Regions from separate parts of the Homo sapiens genome. Here region 1 is linked to region 2. Evidence: promoter capture Hi-C in 16 types of primary human blood cells and fetal thymus (Javierre and others, 2016). All regions are on one chromosome and are shown on one strand. Each heading gives the region's core, a stretch centred on a gene start or on the middle of the fragment in contact. The rest is flanking DNA. Distances are from core to core; before and after follow the strand shown.

Region 1 (2,746 bases), core at 180-2,679, 2.7 Mb before region 2:
AAAAAACTTGAATCTGGCACCGAATGGACAAAGCTTACCTCCCTAGAAAAGAAAACTCCTATTCACCCTTCAAAAGCCACGCAGAATTCATTTCTCCCTTCTCCTAAGTTTTGTGTGTTTTGCATTTTCTTGCATTGCAAAGGTGCCACACAAAACTGTGCCCGTCTTCTCTACAAGAAAGTGAGTTCCCTCAGGTTTGAGACCACGTCTCACCTTGGCCTCACCAGTGCCTGATCCAGGTCCAGGCACATAGCTGACAGTTAGTCCATGTTTACAGAATTAAAAAATTAAGCAGAAGAACTGCTGAAGTTTCGTTTGCCTATGAAGACACAGTCTGAATCCATTTCTGCTTGGGGTTCATTCTAATATCCAAAAAAGCACAGCCATTAAGGGAAAGCATCTCCTCAATGGTAGCTACTCTGACCATCTTATAAGGATGTGTAAACTAAGGTTCTGTTTAAGTGGTGTGTTCGGTGTCACAGCAGTTAGTAGAGCTGTGATCTAAATTTTCCAAATCTGGGCCTCTTTACTACAACTACTAGGTTCTCACGATTTCATCACCCCACTAAGTTCCTGACATCATCACACTTTGCCTGGCATTAATATGCACTCGTGCCACACCCAATTCCCAAGGGAGGAATCAGGGAAAAGAAGGAGCAGTGAGCTGGTGCTGGTAGGAGTCCAATCACTGGCTTCTACATACATCATGCAAGGTACATCCGGAGGAGAGAGAAATCATTTAGGTGGATGCTGGTGTAGTCCCTAGTGGCCTGCGAGAGACCTCCGTGGCCCCAGATGGCTCCTATGTTCCCCTCCTCTTCACTCCAATGCCAAGCATTTTCATTCTCTTTGTTTACCCAGAAAAGTAATCCAGGTTGTATAAGCTTGGCACTAGAGAAAACTGGTTTGGGGAGACCTGCCCCTCACAGTAAGGCCACATCACTTAGTCTCCCAGAGCCTCCTCTTCTGATCTGTAAAACGGGCATAACAATACCGTGCCCTGGAGAATGTGCCTTTAGGAATAACTTCCCCTACCGAGAAGTTTCTGGTGTCTCCTCGTGGAGGCCCAAACACTCCATGCCTGACTCCCGCGGTTCACCTGTTTGGTTCCACTCCCCAGGCGGCATCGAAAGGAAGGTACATTTTTGAGGACTGAGGTTCTACAGTGAGTTGGCCAAGAAGGAAACGACGAAAGGGGGCCGGGTGGAATGCGGGTGCCTTGGGAAAGTTGCGGGGGGAGGGGAATAATTTTTTCAAGTTGGACTAACTCCGTCCTCTGCAGGCCGAGAATGGATCAAGCAGGAAAGGATCCCACGGTCCCCTGCCTGCCTGGGCGTCTCTCCCCGCGCCTCCTTACCTATGAGGTGGCCCACGGAGGTCGCGTAGGGATCCCGGTGACTCTTGCCAAACGCCATGGTAGCGCCAGAGGGCCGGGCCCAGGAAATCCGCCTCCACCGCTCTCCGGCTCCCGACTCCACCCGCTCGGTACCCTTGGCTCCTCCTCTTCGCCCGAGCGCTTCCCGGGCTCTGGCAGAGGCGGTGCGTTCTGCGCTGCCGCTGCGGGGCGCGGGCACCGAGCGTGAGGAGCTGGGCGCGGGGCAGGGACGCGAGGGCGGGGCTTCGGGACGCCCAGCGCACCTGCAGCGCGCCCTGCGGGACCCGCGAGGAGGCTGCGCTGCCGGCTGCAGGTGGTACAGGCGGGTAGTGGCGGGTGTATGGAGCCTGCGAGAGTGGCGCGGCCGCCCGCTCGGATCCCAGGTGGGCTTTTCGCCCCGTGCAGGAGGAGCAGGCAGCCCAGAATCTCCAGCCTGGGAATTAGAGACCCAGGCTTTGATCCTGCCGCTTGCTGGGCACCTTGTCATTCTTCTCTGCGCCTCTTTGGCTGCCCTGGGTAGACCAAAGATAATAGGGGGTTAATAACACAAACCTCAGAATTATGAGAATTAAGGGAAGGACGTAACCGATTATGTCGGTGTCTGGTACCCACAAAATAAATAGTTAGCCACTGAATATACTGAATAACTAGAAATATTTACCCTCGACCTGCCTTTGTCCTAGAGATCCGGGAGGGGAGGTGTGCGCCCTGCCCTTTAAAGTTGTGGTCATGTCTAGGAGGAAGGATTGGCTTCGAATTTAGGGCTTCCCAGGAGCAGGCCCTCTTTGTCTCTCTACTATTTCCTCGAGGGACCACAGGGCGCCGCCTCGCAAGCTCTTGTTTTCTAACCCCACCTTCTGGGAGCCGTGTTTTCCAGCCTGATTCTAAAAACGGGAGAGGGGCTTTCCGTTTCTTCTGGCAAGGAGTATGCTTGGCTTTAGGCCTGCTTTGTAATGTAGGTTGGAATCTGAGAAGCCCAACACCTTTCCAGCTGCCCCTTCAGAACCAGAATTTATTTCCTATTCCTTTGCATTCAATTAACATCTGATTGGCGATGTTAACAATCTCCAGCCAGCAGGAGCCTGCCAGAGAGTGAGGTGTCCCCAGGCGATGTCAGATAGCCATAGATGAGCTCCTGGTGCTTGTAGATCCTGTTTCCTGTAGTCTAACTGCCACCCATTTCAAGTCTGTTTTTTAGCCCTGGAGATGGTGACTAGGGAGACGAAGGGGACCTGTTTTGACTTATGTCCGTGGTCTTGTGAATTTTAATATAGAGGTCAAAACCAATTGCCATGCACTCCAGGAGGCTAACATTTAATTATCTGTAACTCAATTATTTATAATTTTTCTTGACCAAAGTGAGCCAAAACC
Region 2 (2,752 bases), core at 5-2,504:
GATTCCCTCTACGCTCCCTCCTCTTCTTCAATAACCCCAAAGAGGTAGGTTTGAGCTTTCGCAAACCACCACTGCAGCGATGGAAGCAGACAAATCTGTTGAGATTTTGTCTTTCCCCTTTCGTTCCCAGCCCTCTTAGGCAAGCAGTTCTGAGCACAGGGTTTTCTTCAATTCCCCTGCATCCACACTGCAACCGGGTGCAAGTCTTTCCTAGGTTATAGACAGCCCGCCTCCCCACGAGACCTTCTGCGGACTGGCTGCCCCTGGCCTCGGCCTGGGTGGGTGGGTGGTGCTCGCGCCGCCCCTACTTTCCCCTGGGGCCCTGGAGAGCCGCGCGCTGGGTGTGTGTGTGTGTGCGCGCGCGGGTTTGGTGGGGAAATCTCCTTCAGTGGAAGCTGCTGAGTGTCGTTGGCGGAAAGTATCCTGGAGCCCAGCAAAAGCCTCCAAAGCACTAGAGCTTCCCTAAAGAAAAGCAGAATAAAAGAAAGACAAGAAGGGAAGCCCGTTCCTCTAAAGCCCGGGTTTCCAATAGTCCCGGATCCTCCTGGAGTTGGGCGAAGGCGCAGTTGGCAGCAGCCGCTGCTGGCACCCGGACTTGGAAAGGCGGTGTTCCCCCTTTTCGGGAGGAGGGAGGCAGGGACTTGCAGGCAAGAGTTGCACCTGGTCTAGGAACCTGCAGAGAAAAGAACTCTGGGGTAAGTAGTGTTCTGGCACTGGCACGGAAAGGGGTAAAGGGTGGGGGGCATGAGAGGGACGAAATGGAGAGGGCAGGGAATGAATTATGCAAAAAAATCTCCAATATTTCGCAGCGGAGGGAGAGCACAGCACAGCACTCCCAGGATGAGTCCTGCCTGGGTCTCCCGCGCCGAACCCGCAGCACGAAGTTCTTTTTAAGAAGAGAAACTCGAAAATCCTGGAGGGTAACAGAGGCAGCCAGGGCGGGGCGGAGTGCGGAGGCGGCTGCCAGGGACTGGGGCCGAGGCGGCGGCCAAGGTGGCCTGAAGCTGTGACACCCAGCCTCCTCCTCCTCCTCCTCATGGCCGCGCTCAGCCTCACCTCCCCGCCCGGGCCTCCTGCCTCCGCCCCCGGGTGCCGGGCTGCGGAGCTGACGCTGGGACGCCCGGCGGCGGCGAGGACGCTCACCTGGCCAAGCCTCCTTCTCCTCCTCCCCCTCCCGCCCCCACCTGTCCTCCTCCTCTCTGAGTTGGGAAGCGTAGGGATCCGTAGGCGAGGAAATAACGACCCCTGCAGTTGTATTGCGGAAAATCTCGACAGCGGCGCTAGTTGCGGGCGATGGAAGCCAGGCAACTGGGGGTTCTGGGGAGTTCAGGAAAATAGCAGAGGAGCAGGAAGGGCGCGCGCGACCTGGAGAGTCTGTGTGCCCCCACCGCGCCCCAGTCCCCGGGGCCCAGCCCTTCCCCTCGGCGCCCTGGACGCACTGCCGGAACCCGGCTGAGAGGCTGCAGGCTGCGCGCGGACCTGGGGAGCAGGGAGGGTCGGCGGAGGCTGCCGGCGGCTGGCGGTTTCGGGCAATAATCCCTGCCTCTCTTTCTCTGTGTGTCTGCTGTGTCTGCTCCTTCCCCGCCCCCCGGAAGCAGGAGAAGAACTGCCCCGGAGCGCAGCAGCCACCCTCCGACCATGCCCCGGTGAGGGGGGCGGACTTCGAGGGCAACTTGCCGCGGACTGCCTGGGCTTAGCCAGCGAGCTACGCGCTCCCGGGAGCCCGGAATTGCACGGCGCAGCCCGGCGGGGGGCTATCGTCTATGTCTTCTTGGGGCGCCAGACGAATCGGGGTCTCGTTTTTGCTGGAAGAGCCCAGTGTTGGTGGCTTCAGGTGGCTGCTGCCGCCGCCGCCGCCGCCGCCGCTGCTAGTGCGGTTTCCGCCGCTGGTGCGAAGAGAAGAGACACGCGAGCGGGGAGACCTCCAAGGCAGCGAGGCATCGGACATGTGTCAGCACATCTGGGGCGCACATCCGTCGAGCCCGAGGGGAGATTTGCCGGAACAATTCAAACTGCGATATTGATCTTGGGGGTGACTGTCCCTGGCCGGCTGTCGGGTGGGAGTGCGAGTGTGCACTCGCTCGGAAGTGTGTGCGAGTGTGTATGTGTGTGTGCCGTGTCGGGCTCCCCCCTTCCCCCCGTTTTCCCGTCGAGTGATGCACTTGGAATGAGAATCAGAGGATGGAAATAGTCTGGGAGGTGCTTTTTCTTCTTCAAGCCAATTTCATCGTCTGCATATCAGGTACGGGACGCGCCGAAGTCACTGGCTGATTTGGATTATGTTGTGATGTCTGGGGTGTATGGGGTTTTATTGTATATAGCCGCGGGGCAGAGAGAGGGGTGGCGAGACCCTTTGAGTTCTGCGGGTTTGCCGCCTTCAGAATCAAAAATCTTCTCAGCCCAAGGGTGTGTGAATGTGTGTGTTTTGCGGGGGGGGGTGGTTAGGATCTGTGTGCAGTCCTAGAAGGGTGAAGGAAAAAGTGGTGGGGGATGAGAAAGAAGAGGCAGATGGGTGTTGATTTTCAACTGCTTTCCTGGCTGAGAACTCTGGCGCCGAAATCCGAGCCTTGGCAACAACCACCCCCATCCCCTGGCTTTCAAAGTTCCCAGACTCGGTGGTTCCTGGCTGGCAAAATGGACGCGGGGCCCTGCCCGGGTATCTAACCACTTTCAAGAGACTGCGGGAGGATGCGGGACTGGAGAGTACCAGCAGGGATCAGAGATATGTCCTCCATGCCTTACCCAAACACAT

Evidence for each region. The method cuts DNA at HindIII sites, captures the fragments that hold promoters and counts their contacts. A CHiCAGO score of 5 or more calls a contact.
Region 1: the fragment with the promoter of TOM1L1 here is called in contact with the fragment with the promoter of CA10 in region 2 in 1 of 17 cell types (endothelial precursors); the score reaches 9.8 in endothelial precursors.

Annotation. Positions count from the first base shown.
Region 1 is chr17:54,899,535-54,902,280 of GRCh38, reverse strand. It overlaps TOM1L1 (target of myb1 like 1 membrane trafficking protein), which reads right to left and starts at 1,429. Exons shown (of 16, transcript NM_005486.3): 1 at 1,358-1,429. The coding sequence starts at 1,415. It overlaps LOC124904033 (a long non-coding RNA gene), which reads left to right and starts at 1,544. Exons shown (of 2, transcript XR_007065854.1): 1 at 1,544-2,746. RefSeq lists enhancers at 1,115-1,204, 1,225-1,334 and a silencer at 1,415-1,754. The HindIII fragment of the contact is 6,286 bases long and covers 887-2,746 here.
Region 2 is chr17:52,157,216-52,159,967 of GRCh38, reverse strand. It overlaps CA10 (carbonic anhydrase 10), which reads left to right and starts at 1,254. Exons shown (of 9, transcript NM_020178.5): 1 at 1,254-2,242. The coding sequence starts at 2,182. RefSeq lists a silencer at 405-699. The HindIII fragment of the contact is 15,466 bases long and covers 1-2,752 here.